Linked DNA regions of Homo sapiens: all the other regions are linked to region 1. Evidence: promoter capture Hi-C in 16 types of primary human blood cells and fetal thymus (Javierre and others, 2016). All regions are on one chromosome and are shown on one strand. Each heading gives the region's core, a stretch centred on a gene start or on the middle of the fragment in contact. The rest is flanking DNA. Distances are from core to core; before and after follow the strand shown.

Region 1 (3,447 bases), core at 919-3,418:
GCTGTTGGTGTCTGTTAGGTTAATTAACCAAGGGAGCATCAGAGAGAAAGGGACGGGAGGGTTAATACAGCGTTAATTACCCTTGTTTATTTTAGACCTAGATGGAATCAGCCCTAAGGGATGAGGAGAAAGGCCTTAGGGAGAAAATTCTGGCACTGCCATGCTCCCTTTTTCATTTTCCAGGGTTCAGGGCTCTATCTCAAAGGTGAGGAGCAGAAACTCCTCAGCCAGATTACCTGATTCTTGAGTTTTGCACACCCCACTCTCCCTACAAGCACCCAGAGCAAGCTGTGCTGCAATCCCAGGGACTTGTACATGGCCCCTTTCCCTCCCTTACCGCCCAGTCAGCCCCTGCATACATCCTCCTCAGCAGAGGCCCCTCACTCTGTGAATCCAGCCCTAACAGACACCAAGAGCCAGAGTGGGACTGATGAGAGGAAACTGTTCTAAGGGTCAGAGTGGTTGGGGGGAGGCGGGGCAGTGTGAAGGCCACACCACTCCTGCCACCTTCCACTTGCTCTAATACCCCCTTCAGACACGCGCGCGCACACACACACACACACACACACACACACAGTTTCTCTCTGTGGGGTTCTCATTGTTTGTCTTTCTCTGCTTGACTCTAATGTCTCTGACACACACACACACACACACACACACACACACAGTTTCTCTCTGTGGGGTTCTCAGTGTTTGTCTTTCTCTGCTTGACTCTTATGTCTCTGACCCTGGGGCTCTTGACCAGAAGCGATAAGGCCTGCGGGGACTGAAGCACTTCCTTGTCTCCTCAGGATGAGCAGGACTGGTCATTTAGTATTAGCAGACACAGCTGAATACTTCCTTTCTGTGAACCATATCTGGGCTCTGCTCCCACCCTTCCTAAAGATTTAGGTCTCTCAAGTTTCTGCAGAGCAAAAGAAACTGTTCCATGTGGGTGAATTTGCCCTGAGGTTCCCAAACTTCCTCTACCTGCAGTGGTTGGCCAGAAAGAGCAAAGTAAGAGAACAGTGAACATTCGGACTCGAGATAATCGTCGCCTTGGGGAGTGGGACTTGCCTGAGGCTGTGCAGCGACTGGTGGAGCTACAGAACACGAGGGTCCCAAATGCCGAAGAAATTTTCTGAGCCTTTGTACATAGATGAGGCAAAAACCTGCGAGTGCCATCAGCCTCCCTCACATGGGAGACCCCAACCCAGCTGACAATGTGGAGCCCCCAGAACTTCAGAACTGTGTGGAGGCACATGTCTGCTCTCCTGAAAAGAGACTTGGTTTGGGGACCCCACAAAAGGAGGGAAGCTGTAGCTGTTTGGATGTGAGGAGAATGAAACTACAAAAAAAAATAAATTGGGCCAGGCGCAGTGGCTCATGCCTGTAATCCCAGCACTCTGGGAGGCTGAGGCGGACGGATCATGAGGTCAGGAGATCAAGACCACCCTGGCTAACACGGTGAAACCCTGTCTCTACTAAAAATACAAAAAATTAGCCGGGCATGGTGGCACACGCCTGTAATCCCAGCTACTCAGGAGGCTGAGGCAGGAGAATCGCTTGAACCCGGGAGGTAGAGGTTGCAGTGAGCTGAGATTGCGCCACTGCACCCCCCTAGGCGACAGAGCGAGACTCTGTCTCTAAATAAATAAATAAATAAATAAATACAAACTGGAAGCTGCTGGTCATATGTCTTCATCTCTGACTCTGGAGAGGTGGGATAAAAGGATGTTCCACTTTGTCTCCCTCTTTTTTGTCCCAGAGAGTTAGGGAAATTGAAAAGGGACAGTCCAGACCTCACACTGGTAGGGGAGATCCCTTGGATAGGTTTCCTGCTCCCCGCTGTAAACTCCTTTGTGCCCTGTTTCCCCAACCCCAGTTCATGAGTTGGCAGATCCCCTCTCCACAGAAGGCAGCCTGTAGATGGAGAAACTGAGGCACAAACTAGGGGCTCAAACACCTCTTGCTCCTGGATTCTCTGAATCAGTTTCTCTTGAAGGTCATAAGAATGTTCTCCTCTAATCAGTCCCATTCTTCTCAATCCTCTGAGGAGGCTTCAGGGTGACTTTGGGAGGAGTGGCTTCCAGAGGAGGAGCAGCTGGGACTGAGTCATGGCAGGAAGCTGAGGAGGGCGGGAGATCACACCAGACAATTATAAAAGAAGAGCTGGTCCTGAAGCTCACAACCGTAACAGCCACCAGACAAGCTTCAGTGGCCGGCCCTTCACATCCAGACTTGCCTGAGAGGACCCACCTCTGAGTGTCCAGTGGTCAGTTGCCCCAGGATGGGGACCACAGCCAGAGCAGCCTTGGTCTTGACCTATTTGGCTGTTGCTTCTGCTGCCTCTGAGGGAGGTGAGTTGGGGGATCAGCACTTAGGAGGGGGTCTGGGCTTGCATGGCAGGGGTCTGGGTCCAGGCATCCCAGACGGCTCATCACTAGCAGAGTGATTCTCCGTTTGGCTTTCCTTTTCTGAGCAGGCCCAAAGTGGGCCTAGGCCAGTGGAGCCTTTAACCAAGGAGGCAGAGAGCAGGGGCACAGAAGGAGAGGGGTTCCTAGAAACTGCTGCCAAGAAACACAGAATCCCAGTCAAATAGACAACTGAGTGGGGGGTGGGTTCACAGAGTGAGGGTCTCCTGCTGATGAGGATGTAGGGAGGTGGCTGGTGGGAGAGGCAAGGGAGGGAAAAGGGGCCCCCAGGCTGCTCAAAACCGGATTGCTGGCCCAGCAAGCCTCGACTGACTCCCTGTCTGATTAGAGGAGTTGAGGGGTGTCCATCCACAGACCCACCCTCCATCCAGCACAAACACATTCTTTATCTGCTTTGATGCCTGAACAAAACAGGAACCCCTCAATGCTATGGGTGGAAACTAAGAAAAAAAGGAAAAGAAAAGGAAAAAAACCACCCAGGGCACTCCTGCAGGAAGCTGCTGAGGATGTCAGCAAATCTGTCCACTTCTCTGTGAAGCCCCATGCCATCATTCTTCCCAGCTCCTGGTCTTTTGTGTCTGCAGATCACCTACAAGTGACCCTTCCCTGTGCCTGTCCCAGTCCCCCAGGCCCTAAATTGAGACCTAAACTAAGGCGGAGCTGAGACTGGCTGAAGGGGAAGCACTCAACCTTCAGGAAGCCTCCTTAACCAAAGGCCTAAAGATGTTTCAAGGGCCTGGAGTAGGAGGGTGGGTGGAGGAGGTGGATTGGGTAGGCTCCAACCAGCTCAAGGTCCAGACTTTTTCCTCTGAAAGCTAGAGACGCATCCCAGCAGAGACTGGGGAGGACAACCCACAGCCCTGAGGGAAAGACTGGCAGAGGAAATGAGGGCCTCCCTCCCCAATCCCGTATGCCATACTCCCTTTAGGCCCAACCTCTGAGCCAGTAGAGGTGGAGCTATCAGACCGCCACAGGCTTTCTCAGAACCCAGCTGGTCATGTCTAGGTGTGTTGGGGCTGGGAGAGGATTAGGG
Region 2 (3,326 bases), core at 408-2,907, 160 kb after region 1:
CCAGCTAATATTTGTATTTTTAGTAGAGATGGGGTTTTGCCATGTTGCCCAGGCTGGTCTCGAACTCCTCAGCTCAAGTGGTATGCCCACCTCAGCCTCCTGAAGTACTAAAATTACAGGTGTGAGCCACTGTGCCTGGCCCCAACTCATATTTGTGACTCCTCTTTAAGGAAGGGGTAGGCTTTTTTTTTAGGTTAACACTTGTTTTTTTTTATAGTTTAGCTACCTAATTAAAGTTAAACTATAACTTCCTTCAGAACACGTAATTATGTAGGCATTATTTATTCTCGTAATAAATCTTAACAGGTGTGCAAACATTTTAGCCAATATTAAAGCAACTGGAAGAAAGTTTTCTTTTGTTGTCTCATTTCCTCCTGACCATGTAACTTCTGTTTCAGTGACAGTGACATCAGATTGTCAACAAAACTATAAATGAGAAGCAGTATAAAGAAATGATGAAGATCAGGATAAAGAAACTACATTTTTGAATGTCACACTTTCCTATTGTAGCATCTCAAAACATACAAAACTTTCCAAACGAGTTTTTAACTTTTTTATTAAGAATATGCAATAATAGACAAAAGTATAAAAACATATATGTAGAGTTTTAAGAAAATAATTATAAAACAAACACCTGTATAACTACAAGAAAGAGACTGGATTTAGAAAAAGAAAATAACTGAGAAAAGAGAGAACATGATAGTAAATGTTCCCCTGTACTGTGGGTACATATGACCAATAAAGATTATAATATTGTCATCTATAGTAATATTTAGAACAGATTGAAACAAATTTAGGTGCAGAATAGCCTGGAGGTAAGGGAAAATACAATTATTTATATTTAAAGGTCATTTTCCTCTTAGTGTATCTATCTAACTTAGTGAATTCTCCAGCCATTCATAATAAAGATTCTATATTAAATGGCCAATGCTTTGGTATGTCTGAGCAGGAAGACCTAGCACGTACATACTAAAGTTCACCATTTGATCATTAAATCTCATTACCAAAGGCTATCTAAAGAAAATTTTAGGACCTACCCAACACAGATGGAATTGCACATTGTCTCATGGCTAATGGAGAATCTCAGAGAATTTGCAGAATAAGATATTCAGATAGTGGACTTTAATATACATCTGTAGGCCGGGCGCGGTGGCTCACACCTGTAATCCCTGCACTTTGGGAGGTCAAGGCGGGTGGATCACCTGAGGTTAGGAGTTCGAGACCAGCCTGGCCAACATGATGAAACCCTGTCTCTACTAAAAATACAAAAATTAGCTGGGTGTGGTGGCACGTGCCTGTAATCCCAGCTACTCAGGAGGCTGAGGCAGGATAATCACTTGAACCTGGGAGGTGGAGGTTGCAGTTAGCTGAGATCACACCACTGCACTCCATCCTGGGCAACAAGAGCAAAACTCCGTCTCAAAAAAAAAAACTGCAGGCCCGGCGTGGTCGCTCAGGACTGTAATCCCAGCATTTTGGGAGGCTGACGTGGGTGGATAGCCTGAGGTCAGCAGTTCAAGACCAGCCTGGCCAACATGGTGAAACCCCGTTTCTACTAAAAAATATAAAAATTGGCCAGGTGTGGTGGTAGACGCCTGTAATCCCAGCCACTCAGGAAGCTGAGGCAGAAGAATTGCTTGAACCCCAGAGGTGGAGGTTGCAGTGAGCTGAGATCTCACCACTGCACTCCAGCCTGGGCGACAAGATTGAAACTCCATCTCAAAAAAAATTGTAAAAAAGAAAGAAAAATCCCATTATAGAAATGTATACTTTAGGCTGGGTGTGGTGGCTCACGCCTGTAATCCCAGCACTTTGGGAGGCTGAGGCGAGTGGATCATGAGGTCAGGAGATCGAGACCATCCTGGCTAACACGGTGAAACCCCGTCTCTACTAAAAATACAAAAAATTAGCCGGGCGTGGTGGCGGGTGCCTGTAGTCCCAGCTACTTGGGAGGCTGAGGCAGGAGAATGGCATGAACCCAGGAGGCGGAGCTTGCAGTGAGCCGAGATTGTGCCACTGCACTCCAGCCTGGGCTACAGAGCAAGACTCTGTCTCAAAAAATAAATAAATAAATAAAAAGAAATGTAGACTTTAGAAAGTGAAAGTGTTCTAGAATCTTATCCCCTCTAGAGGATCACTACCAACAGTTTAATGGGTACTTTTCTAGATTTTTATATACATATTCTATGTTTACACTTATTAATATTATTTCTAGAAATGGCATTACACTGAGTGGTAACTTTTTTCATTAACCCATTATTCTGGGTATCATTCCACATCAGTAAATATACTTCTTCATCCCTTGTAATGACTGCATAGTATTGCATTTTACATGCATTATAATTTTATCTATCCAAGCCCCTTACTGATGTGCATTTAGGTTGCTTACAGTATTTTGTTATTATTAAAAAATGTTGGCTGGGTGTGGTGGCTCAAGCCTGTAATCCCAGCACTTTGGGAGGCCATGGTGGGTGGATCACCTGAGGTCAGGAGTTTGAGACCAGCCTGGCCAACATGGTGAAACCCAGTCTCCACTAAAAATACAAAAAAATTAGCCGGGCATGGTGGCCCGTGCCTGTAATCCCAGCTACTCAGGAGGGTGAGGCAGGAGAATCCTATGAATCCAGGAGGCAGAGGCTGCAGGGAGGTGAGTTCGTGCCACTGCACTCCAGCCTGGGCGGCAGAGTAAGACTCCATCTCAAGAAAAAAAAAAAAAAGTAAAGACGTATTCATTTGTGTGTGTATTTCTGTTGAATATCTAGAAGAAAATTCTGGGTCAAATATTACACATATTTAAACTTTAAAGATTGCACAATGGGAATTCAATAAATTCAGACAGTCAACACTTTATGCTGAATTTCCACTTAGTCAAGTATTCAAAGTGCCCTTCCTTATTCAAACTTCCTTGAAGACACACCTTAAAACAACTCTGAAGGTTAAAGATCTTAAAAGTTGCCTGCTTGGCAAAAAAAGAGGAAAGAAGGGCCGGGCGCGGTGGCTCACGCCTGTAATCCCAGCACTTTGGGAGGCCAAGGCGGGCGGATCACCTAAGGTCAGAGTTTGAGACCAGCCTGGCCAACATGGTGAAACACTGTCTCTACTAAAAATACAAAATTAGCCGGGTGTGGTGCCGCATGCCTGTAATCCCAGCTATTCGGGAGGCTGAGACAAGGAGAATCGCTTGAACCTGGGAGGCGGAGGTTGCAGTGAGCCGAGATCGCACCACTGCACTCCAACCTGGACAACGAGAGCAAAACTCCGTCTCAAAAAAAAAAAAAAAAAAAAAAGAGGAAAGAAAACAAAACAACTTAAAGCATCATTAAAAA
Region 3 (3,342 bases), core at 138-2,637, 200 kb after region 1:
TTTTGCATTAGGATATAAATCTTGCGAATGAGGAGAATGCTTGCTTTCTTGGTGTCAGTAGACAACATGCTAGATTCGTTGCTTTGGTTTTTACTAGAAGAGAATCACATATTAATTTATTTTATAAAACCTGTGGCTTCTAATATCATAACTTTACATTTTAACTATTTGAGATTCTTATTTCTATTATAGCATTAAGCTGTTAACTTGAAAGTTACCATGTGTTTTAATGTCACTATTATAAAATTTTAATATTAATATCTGCTAGAAATAATAACTTAATTTTACTTAAGTGCATTTTATATGAAGTGTTTAAAGAAAGCACATTATGTTTTAAAATTATATTTCTATATTTCTAATCACCTAAGTTCTCTTTCCACAATTAAAATTGCTTATTATTAGCCACAGAATCCTGGCTTGAAGCTACTGCAAGCCACCACTCCATTTTGCATAGCCACATCTTGATGGTTAATTGGGGATGTCCCCGCAGTTTCAGAATGAATCCTGAGGTTTAGCTATATAGCATTAATATGAATAAGTGGTAATCTGTAATACAAACAGAAAACTATAGAACAATACCTTATGAAGTCCATGAGTGGTCCATTATTGGTGTATTTGAATTTGAATTGGTAACATTCTGAAATTGTCTTAAATAGAAAATATCGCAGTTATGCTTCTGATATTCAGTACTAGCTGCTAAATAGCTATATTCTGTTTTGTATGACTCAACATTTAGTCAATACTTTTTTCTGCCATATTAATCCCTATTGATCCATTGAAACTTTTGATTCCTCATAGTCAGTTTTCATGGTTTGGGTTTGGGGCTTCAGTCTTGGAGAGACATTTATTTCCCAACTCATTGTAATGTATGTTATTGTAGGGAAAAGAGAGATCAGACTGTTACTGTGTCTATGTAGAAAGGGAAGACATAAGAGACTCCATTTTGAAAAAGACTTGTACTTTAAATAATTGCTTTGCTGAGATGTTGTTAATTTGTAGCTTTGCCCCAGCCACTTTGACCCAACCACTTTGATCCAATCTGGAGCTCACAGAAACATATGTTGTATGAAATCAAGGTTTAAGGGATCTAGGGCTGTGCAGGACGTGCCTTGTTAACAAAATGTTTACAAGCAGTATACTTAGTAAAAGTCATCGCCATTCTCTAGTCTCAATAAACCAGGGGCACAATGCATTGCGGAAAGCCGCAGGGACCTCTGCCCTTGAAAGCGGGGTATTGTCCAAGGTTTCTCCCCATGTGATAGTCTGAAATATGGCCTTGTGGGATGAGAAAGACCTGACCGTCCCCCAGCCCGACACCCATAAAAGGTCTGTGCTGAGGTGGATTAGTAAAAGAGGAAAGCCTCTTGCAGTTGAGATAGAGGAAGGCCACTGTCTCCTGCCTGCCCCTGGGAACTGAATGTCTCGGTATAAAACCCGATTGTACATTTGTTCAATTCTGAGATAGGACAAAAACCGCCCTATGGTGGGAGGCGAGACATGTTTGCAGCAATGCTGCCTTGTTATTCTTTACTCCACTGAGATGTTTGGGTGGTGAGAAACAAATCTGGCTTACGTGTACGTCCAGTCATAGTACCTTCCCTTGAACTTAATTATGACATAGATTCTATTGCTCACATGTTTGTTGCTGACCTTCTCCTTATTATCACCCTGCCCTCCTACTACATTCCTTTTTACTAAAATAATGAAGATAATAATCAATAAAAACTGAGGGAACTCAGAGACCGGCGCCGGTGCAGGTCCTTGGTATGCTGAGCGCCGGTCCCCTGGGCCTACTATTGTTTCTCTATACTTTGTCTCTGTGTCTTATTTCTTTTCTCAGTCTCTCGTCCCACCCGACTAGAAATACCCACAGGTGTGGAGGGGCAGGCCACCCCTTCAGTTATTTATACCACATGGAAGGAACTCCTTAGCAGGCAGATAAGGGAGGCAACATACCTCAGCAGAGTGGCTAACACAGGGCATAAATCTTTGCTATACTGTAACCACAGGCAAGCCACTTAAGCCTTAGTTTAAGTATTAGTTTCCCCAGCTAAAAAAGAGATTAAAGACAGTACATATCTCATTGATAGTTGTGAATAAATATTCACAAATGGGATAATTTATACAGGGTACTTTATAAAGTACCTGACATATAGTAAACATTCAATAAATATTATTATTGTATCAACAAGGTTGCTAATTTACTGATAGAAAAAATGCACAACTATATAACATATGAAAATAAATGAACATTTTCTGAACAATCAATTAGTTTTCTGAACACAATCTATTAATTCACAGCCTTTACCCAAATGATCTGCTTTGTCAGCATGGATACATATTAAGCATTAATCGCAGGTGTGAGTATCAAAGAAAAGACACATTCTCAGCCCTCCTGAAGCCTGAATACTTCTATTGCTTTCTTTATATTTCATTGCTTACATAGTGATGTTTTTAAACGTCTATTTTTAACACCAGTTTAAATCTACCTCTCCTTGACTGAATGAAACGTTATATTGTAACAGCTATAGCGTAATGGGTAAACACCCAAATTGTGAACTGGCCTTCCTAGGTTCAAAAACCTGGTTCTGCCACTTCAGCCACTATGACCTTAGGCAAGAAACCCCTTGTACTTAGATTTCCTCATCTGTAAAGCGGAGATGCTAATAGTGGTTACCTCATGAAGGTTGGGATGAATAAATGAGATAATGCACATAAAGCCCCAAAGAACAGAGCCTAATATAAAGTAAGCACTCAGTAGATCTTTCCCCCTTGTTTCTTATCTTCTGGTTTTCCCTTTCACGTTCTCCCTTCTCTCCTTTAATGGTAAGATAAATAGGTAGCTATGAATGGATTGGGATGAATATTCGAAGTTTAAGGATGACTTTCTTACTTTCCTAAAACTCAAGCCCTTTCATAATTCTAAAATGTAGTATAAAAAATACTATAAAGAATTAGACGTCAGGAGATTTAAGTTAAGTTTCTAACAGTTTGTAAGCTTTGTGGCCTAAGATCAGTCACATAATCTCTGTCATGCTAATCTGTTTAAAGGTAACAATCCAAGCCCTGCCTTACCTCAGAAGAGTTTTATGAAGCTCAAATGTGAAAATATATATGAAAGTATATTGATTAAAGCATAATTAAAAGCATAAGATATTCTTATATTATGTTTCGTGTTATTTTTAGATATTAGAGGCATTATGTTTCTTTAGTAACTCAAGCACACTTACCTGAGGATCTTCTGGGTTTGTGTATACCTATTTAAAAACAATTTACAATTGAGTTATCTAAGGCTAAGTATTCAAGAACTAAATTAGATGTTTAGACTAAACTTCATGTGAA
Region 4 (3,733 bases), core at 313-2,812, 140 kb after region 1:
GACTTTATTTGGAACACAGTGTGGAGAATTCTATGCCTAAGGGTGTTGAAAACCATAGAGATCTTGGTGGAGAGCAATTACAAGGTGCTGCTAGCTCTATGGCACTGGTATGACAAACCCAAATGGCAAAGCCTCCAGAAGTTTAACAGGCAGAACCAGAGAAACAGAAAGCCAAGAAAAGTCCTTCTGGAATCATGACCAACACTGGGGGTTGGGAAGACTGTGTGCTTGCACCAGGCTGCACCCACTCAGGAGCAATCAGAGCAGGACGTGGGGCTTGACTTGAGAGTATTCCCCAGACCACACATAGATCTATCAAAAAAGGGTGGATGCTTCACTGGCACCAAGGGCTAAAGCACAACCACTGAACCAACACTGGCTGAACAATAAGCTACCCTAACTCAGAGGCAACTCCTAGAAAGCTAAGCTTAAAAATAATAATAATAGCCGGGTGTGGTGGTACACGCCTGTAGTCCCAGCTACTTGGAGGCTTAGGCAGGAAAACCCAGGAGGCGGAGGTTTCAGTCAGCTGAGATTGTACCACTGCACTCCAGCCTGAGTGACAGAGTGAGACTTCATCTCAAGAAATGAAAAATAAAAAATAAAAATAAAATTAAAAAAATCACATACATCCCTGGTGTATGTCCAAGGATGTACTCTCTCCGAGAAGAAATCAGAGAGGGAACTTCCAAGCTGCTAGTTCCTCACTGAATGTGGGGCAAAATGTAAACTCCCTGATTTGTGATGGCTATGTCAAAATCACACACACATATCCAACAGTAAAGGATAAAAAAATTTAATTGGCTAAAAGGTCTTAAGCACAACCTTTGACTAATAAGTGGCTTCTACTGACCCACTGGCAACACACAGGGAGTTAGGCCAAAAGATAAAAACAAGAAAATATGAGCAGTGACATCAGAGGCTGCACACTACAAGAGAAACAGACTTCAGAGAGCTGCTGCAGGCAAGTCACTAAGGAAACAAATTACCAAGCAAACAACACAATCAACCTCTAGTGGGAAGGAGAAACCAGTATAGCAGGTGTCCCCAACCCCTGGACCATGGACTGGTACTGGTCTGCAGCCTGTTAGGAACCCGGCTGCACAGCAGGAGGTGAGCCATGGGTGAGTAAAGTTGAGCTCTGCCTCCCATCAGATCAGCAGTGGCATTAGGTTCCCACAGGAGTGTGAACCCTATTGTGAACTGCACATGGGAGGGATCTAGGTTGCATGTTCCTTGTGAGACTCTAATAAATGCAATGCACTTGAATCATACCGAAACCATCCCCCCGTCTCCCACCCCAGTGGAAAAACTGTCTTCCACGAAACCTGTCCTGGTGCCAGAAAAGTTGGGGACAGCTGCAGTGTAGTATCCAGAGTTGCACAATTATCTAAAATGTCCAGTTTTTGACAAAAAAGTATGAAGTATACAAAGAATAAATTGTGACCCATTGACCCATTCAGAAGAAAAAAAGCAGGCAATGGAAACTGCCTTTGAGAACGCTAAAATGTTGGACTTTACAAAGACTATAAAGCAGCTTTTATAAATATGTTCAAAGACCTAAGGGAAACCATGACTTATCATATAGAGAATATAAATAAAGACAGAAATTATAAAAAAGATCCATTTAGACCAGGTGCGGTGGCTCACGCCTGTAATCCCAGCATTTTGAGAGGCTGAGGTGGGTGGATCATTTGAGGCCAGGAGTTCAAGACAAGCCTGGCCAACATGGCGAAACGCCATCTCTACTAAAAATACAAAAATTAGCCAGGTATGGTGGGCACCTGTAATCCCAGCTGCTCAGGAGGCTGAGGCAGAGAATCGCTTGAACCTGGGAGGTGGAGGCTGCAATGAGCTGAGATAGTGCCACTGCACTCCAGCCTGGGCAACAAAGCAAGACTCCATCTCAAAAAAACAAAAACAAAAAAACCATTTAGAAATCCTAGAGTTTAAAAGTACAACAGACTGGGCATGGTGGCTCACGTCTGTAATCCCAGCACTTTGGGAGGCTGAGGCAGGCGGATTACTTGAAGCCAGGAGTTTGAGACCAGCCTGGCCAATATGGTGAAACCCTGTCTCTACTAAAAATACAAAATTAGCCGGGTATGGTGGTGTGTGCCTGTAGTTCCAGCTACTCAGGAGGCTGAGGCAGGAGAATCACTTGAACCCAGGAGGCGGAGGTTGCAATGAGCCAAGATCACACCATTACACTCCAGCCTCAGCGACAGAGCGAAACTCAAAAAAAAAAAAAAAAAAAAAAGTACAACAAACAAAATGAAAAAATCACTCAAGGGATCCAACAAGAGATCTGAGCTGGCAAAATAAAGAATTAGCAAACTTAGAGATCAAAGAAATTATGTAATATGAAGAACAAGGAGAAAAGAGAATGAAGAAAAATGAACAGACTCAGAGAAATATAAAGTATCATCAACTTGATGAACATACATAAAATGGAAGCACCAGAAGGAAAGGAGAGAAAGAGGCAGAAAAAATACTCAAGAAAGTAATGGCTAAAATCTTGCCAAACGTGATGAAAAACACTCAACCACACATTGGAGAAGTTCAACAAACTCCAAGTTGGATGAACACAAAGAGACCCATATCCAACATCATAGTAAAAATGTTGAAAACCAAAAATAAGTGGAAAATCATGAAAGCAGAAGAGAAAAATGACTTATCACATCACAGTGGAACTTTGTAAGCTTAATAACTGACTTCCCATTAGAAAAAATGCAGGCCAGAAGAATGAGTAGACTTATTCAAAGTGAGGGTAGAAACTATTAGCCAAGAATCTTATAACTGGCAAACTATCTTTCAGAAATAAAAGCAAAGCAGGTGTGGTGGCATGCACTTGTAGTCCCAGCTACTCAGGAGGCTGAGGCAGGAGAATCACTTGAACCCAGGAAGTGGAGGTTGCATTGAGCTGAGATCGTGCCACCGCACTCCAGACTGGGTGACAGAGTGAGACTCTGTCTCAAAAAAAAAAAAAAAAAAAAAAAAAAAACCCTAAAAAAAACAAAACAAAAATGAAGGCAAAGAAAAATTTCTAAAAAGGAGAAAAAATAAATACATTCCTAGATCTGAAAGAGTTCACTGCTAGCAGACCTGCTTATAAGAAATATTAATACTAAAACTAAAGGGAAGTTGTTAAGGCTGAGAGCAGGACACACTAGACAGTAATTTGAATCCACGTGAACAAACAGTAAAAGTAATTATGTAAGTAATAAAAAAGATGGTATAATTGGATACTTCATCTCAACTGATTTATAAAGCAATTGCACAAAACAATATTTATATAATTGTTATTGTTGAGTTATAATTTTTAACTTTTTAAACTTTTGCGCAAGGTTATAACACATAGAAATGTAATAATAGCACAAAGAAAGAGGGTGGGAAAAAAGTTGTGTTGAAGTAAGGAAAATGACAACAGATGGTAACTTGAATCCACAGGAAGAAATGAAGAAAACCAGAAATGGTAAATAAGGAGGTTAATATAACAAACTCTATAAGTATATATTTGTGCTTTCTTCTCTTCTTTAATAATTACAACAATGAATTGTTGAATTTGTAACACATAGAGATGTAATACGTGTAACAATATTGGCATGGTGGGCCCATGCCTGTAATCCCAGAACTTTGGGATGCCAAGGTGGGCAGATTGCTTGAGCCCAGCAGTTTAAGACCAGTCTGGGTAACATAGTGAAACTTTGTCTAAAAAAACAAAACAAAACAA
Region 5 (3,441 bases), core at 653-3,152, 180 kb after region 1:
TATATGTGCTTTATACAATTTTCTGGATACACTGTATTTCACAATTTTAGAAAACTTAAACAATAAAGCATGTAACTGGATGTTCAGCTCTCATACTTCAGTTTTAAAACACTGGAGTTCATTAAAAGGAGATGGGATGCTTTCAGACATCTGTGGTTATTCCAGTTGCACATCACTGAAATTATTAGGAACATCCAGTTGATGTTCTTTTTTCCTAGAACCTGTCTCTTTACAGACTAACTCACTCTTATTCCAGTTAAGAGTTATTACCTCCTGGCGGGGCGCAGTGGCTCACACCTGTAATCCCAGCACTTTGGGAGGCCAAGGCAGTTGGATCACCTGAGGTCAGGAATTCAAGACCAGCCTGGCCAACATGGTGAAACCCCGTCTCTACAAAAATACAAAAATTAGCCGGGGATGGTGGCAGGTGCATGTAATACCAGCTACTTGGGAGGCTGAGGAAGCAGAATCGCTTGAATCCGGGAGGTGGAGGTTGCAGTGAGCCAAGATCACGCCACTGCTTTGCAGCCTGGGTGACAGAATGAGATTCTATCTCAAACAAACAAACAACAAAAAAAAGAGTTATCACCTCCTGTAAGTCTTTCCCAACATCTCTTCTTCCCTCTCCTACTGCTCCTTCCCACCACCCATCTGATTTACGTGCTTTTCCTCTGTGTTTCCTTCCTACTCAGAACACACTTATACACATATCACATTGTTCTGAAATGGTCTGCTGACTTTCTGGCTTCTACTCCCAGCATCTCCAACCATCCCTATGCCACTAAACCATAAATTGACCTCAAAAGCAGGGACAATTGTTTTTGTTCTCTCTTTCTATGACATATGAGTCATTCAATAAAATTTTTGGTGATTAAACAAATAAGTGAAAATGTATTGCCATATTTCCAATGGATAATACTTCTTGCCAATTTTTACCACAGTGACATGAGAAATATGATGAAAAGCTTTTCTTTCACAGTAAGTAGTAAGTATTCAATAAATGGCATTACTAGGAGAAAGCTTTCCAAGAAAGAGAGGATGGTTGAAAAACATTATCCACAAATTAAATAGATGAGAAATGAAAAGACCACTAGGAGTCAAAAGCAGTAATTGGCTTACTCCCCTTACAGGTAACTTAAGAAACGATTCTAATAAATGAAAAGTTTTATACATTAGCAAGTCAATTAAAACACTGTTCATGAGTTAATAATCTATATCAAAACTCTTACCAAAGGCAATAATAACAAATAAGCAGATTCCTGATTTCAACAGGAGATAAACCTATTTTATTTTGGTCAGGCTTGTGCTCAATGTTTACTTTCTCAGTTGAGGTCAGTGTTATTGAACTGAGATAGTATCTAATTTTAACTGTGCTTGAAAGGTTATACTCTTCAAATTATATTTAAATTTCTTGATTGTTTTCATAAGACAATGATACTTAATATTTAATTTAATTAGTTTATATTTTTTGAGGCAGTCTTACTCTGTCACCCAGGCTAGAGTGCAGTAGTGTGACCTTGGCTCATTGCAGCCTCTGCCTCTTGGGTTCAAGAGATTCTCCCATCAGCATAGCTAGGATTACAGGTGCATGCCACCACACCCAGCTAATTTTTTTTTTCCTTTAGTAGAGATGGGGTTTCACCATGTTGGCCAGGCTGGTCTCGAACTCCTGGCCTCAAGTGATTTGCCCGCCTCAAACCTCCCAAAGTGCTGGGATTATAGATGTGAGCCACTGCGTCTGGCCAGATGCTTAATATTTTAAAACCAGTCTGTGGTAGTTACCCCTCAGAAGAATTTTTTTTTTTCTTTTAAGACAGGGTCTCACTCTGTCACCCAGGTTGGAGTACAGTGGCACAAACACAGCTCACTCCAGCCTTGAACTCCTGGGCTCAAGCAATCCTCTCGCCTCAATCTCCCAAGTAGCTGAAACTGCAGGTATGTGACACCATGCCAGGCTAATTTTTATATTTTTTGTAGAGATGAGGTCTCACTATGTTGCCCAGGTTGGTCTAGAATTCCTGGCCTCAGGCAATCCTTCTGTCTCCCAAAGTGCTGGGATTACAGACAGGAGCCACCGTGCCTGCTTGAAAGACACATAGTTTCTAAAAAAATGATAATACTGGGTTCTAAACAGAGGATCTTAGGGAACTCTCCAGTAAAAGTTTGGGAGTTTGGGACACAAAATTTAACATTTAGGATTTTTTCCTTTTTTGACTTGTCACAAATCCCAAACCATGTAAAAACAAGCAATTATATACACATTAAAACATACTCACAAAGAACATAAAAATGTTATTAAGCCCTTAATTTGGACACAAAAATGAAATGGGCTTTGCTGTTTTCATTAGGCTGATTCTCTTTTCCCTAAAGGAAAGAGTCTAAAAGTCTCTGCCTGGTAACAAAATCTATAATCTGGTCCAAATCGAATTTACTGATTTTGAATCCCATTGTTCTCCACCTACTTCAGTCATACTGGCCTACTCACAGTTATCTCCCAAACTCATCAAGCTCATGATACCTTTGCTCACTCAGGTTCCCTCATCCAGAACGTGTTTCCTTTTCTCCATTCATGTTAATCCTCCCATTTTTAAAGGCATGGCTTGTTTTACTGCCTTTTTCTATTCTTCCCCGGATTACTCTATCTCATGATGGTTTCTCCTCTCTCTAACTCCCTTGGCTCATTCTAACATGCAAAAACTTGCTTTTTATTGTTGTTTACTTTAAAAAAAATATTTTGCATTGTGAAATATAATGTACACACAGAAGAATAAACAAAACAAAGTAAAAAGCTTAATTATTCCAAAGTGAAGATCTATGGCCCAGGTGCAGTGGCTCACGCTTGTAATCCCAGCACTTTGGGAGGCCAAGGCAGGTGGATCACTTGAGATCAGGAGTTCAAGACTAGCCTGGCTAACATGCTGAAAACCCTTCCCTACTAAGAATACAAAAATTAGCCAGGAGGGACAGAGCAAGACTCCGTATCAAAAATAAATAAATAAATAAAAAAGGCCGGGAGCAGTAGTTTACGCCTGTAATCCCAGCACTTTGGGAGGCCACACCTATAATCCCAGCACTTTGGGAGGCCAAGTTGGGTGGGTCGCCTGAGAGGTCAGGAGTTCAAGACCAGCCTGACCAATATGGTGAAACCCCATCTCTACTAAAAATACAAAAATTAGCCAGGCATGGTGGCGGGTGCCTGTAATCCCAGCTACTCAGGAGATTGAGACAGGAGAATTGCTTGAACTCGGGAGGCGCAGGTTGCAGTGAGCCAAGATGGTGCCACTATACTCCAACCTGGGTGACAGAGCAAGACTCTGTCTTAAAAACAAAAACAAAAACAAAAACAAAACTATGAAACTTCCTCTAGGTCCAGAAACAGAAAATTGTTACTATCTAGAAATCCTCTCCATTTTCCTTCCTAATTACTAACACCCTTTTCCT

What was found. The method cuts DNA at HindIII sites, captures the fragments that hold promoters and counts their contacts. A CHiCAGO score of 5 or more calls a contact.
Region 2: a fragment that was not itself captured here is called in contact with the fragment with the promoter of ECM1 in region 1 in 1 of 17 cell types (neutrophils); the score reaches 6.6 in neutrophils.
Region 3: a fragment that was not itself captured here is called in contact with the fragment with the promoter of ECM1 in region 1 in 1 of 17 cell types (neutrophils); the score reaches 5.5 in neutrophils.
Region 4: a contact is called between a fragment that was not itself captured here and the fragment with the promoter of ECM1 in region 1, in 1 of 17 cell types (neutrophils). The highest score is 5.1, in neutrophils.
Region 5: a contact is called between a fragment that was not itself captured here and the fragment with the promoter of ECM1 in region 1, in 1 of 17 cell types (neutrophils). The highest score is 7.6, in neutrophils.

The regions. Positions count from the first base shown.
Region 1 is chr1:150,505,941-150,509,387 of GRCh38, forward strand. It overlaps ECM1 (extracellular matrix protein 1), which reads left to right and starts at 2,169. Exons shown (of 10, transcript NM_004425.4): 1 at 2,169-2,339. The coding sequence starts at 2,270. TARS2 (threonyl-tRNA synthetase 2, mitochondrial) reads left to right here. Exons shown (of 18, transcript NM_025150.5): 18 at 976-1,662. The coding sequence ends at 1,124. The HindIII fragment of the contact is 8,833 bases long and covers 1-2,189 here.
Region 2 is chr1:150,668,542-150,671,867 of GRCh38, forward strand. All of the region lies in intron 2 of GOLPH3L (golgi phosphoprotein 3 like), which reads right to left. Among named protein-coding and RNA genes, the nearest start is that of GOLPH3L, 27 kb to the right of the region's middle. The HindIII fragment of the contact is 5,826 bases long and covers 1-3,326 here.
Region 3 is chr1:150,708,315-150,711,656 of GRCh38, forward strand. HORMAD1 (HORMA domain containing 1) reads right to left here. Exons shown (of 15, transcript NM_032132.5): 7 at 3,231-3,257; 8 at 580-647; 9 at 1-93. Among named protein-coding and RNA genes, the nearest start is that of HORMAD1, 11 kb to the right of the region's middle. The HindIII fragment of the contact is 3,217 bases long and covers 1-2,996 here.
Region 4 is chr1:150,649,405-150,653,137 of GRCh38, forward strand. The region is part of intron 4 of GOLPH3L (golgi phosphoprotein 3 like); the gene reads right to left. Among named protein-coding and RNA genes, the nearest start is that of ENSA, 22 kb to the left of the region's middle. The HindIII fragment of the contact is 2,275 bases long and covers 426-2,700 here.
Region 5 is chr1:150,688,195-150,691,635 of GRCh38, forward strand. All of the region lies in intron 2 of GOLPH3L (golgi phosphoprotein 3 like), which reads right to left. Among named protein-coding and RNA genes, the nearest start is that of GOLPH3L, 7.2 kb to the right of the region's middle. The HindIII fragment of the contact is 1,769 bases long and covers 1,019-2,787 here.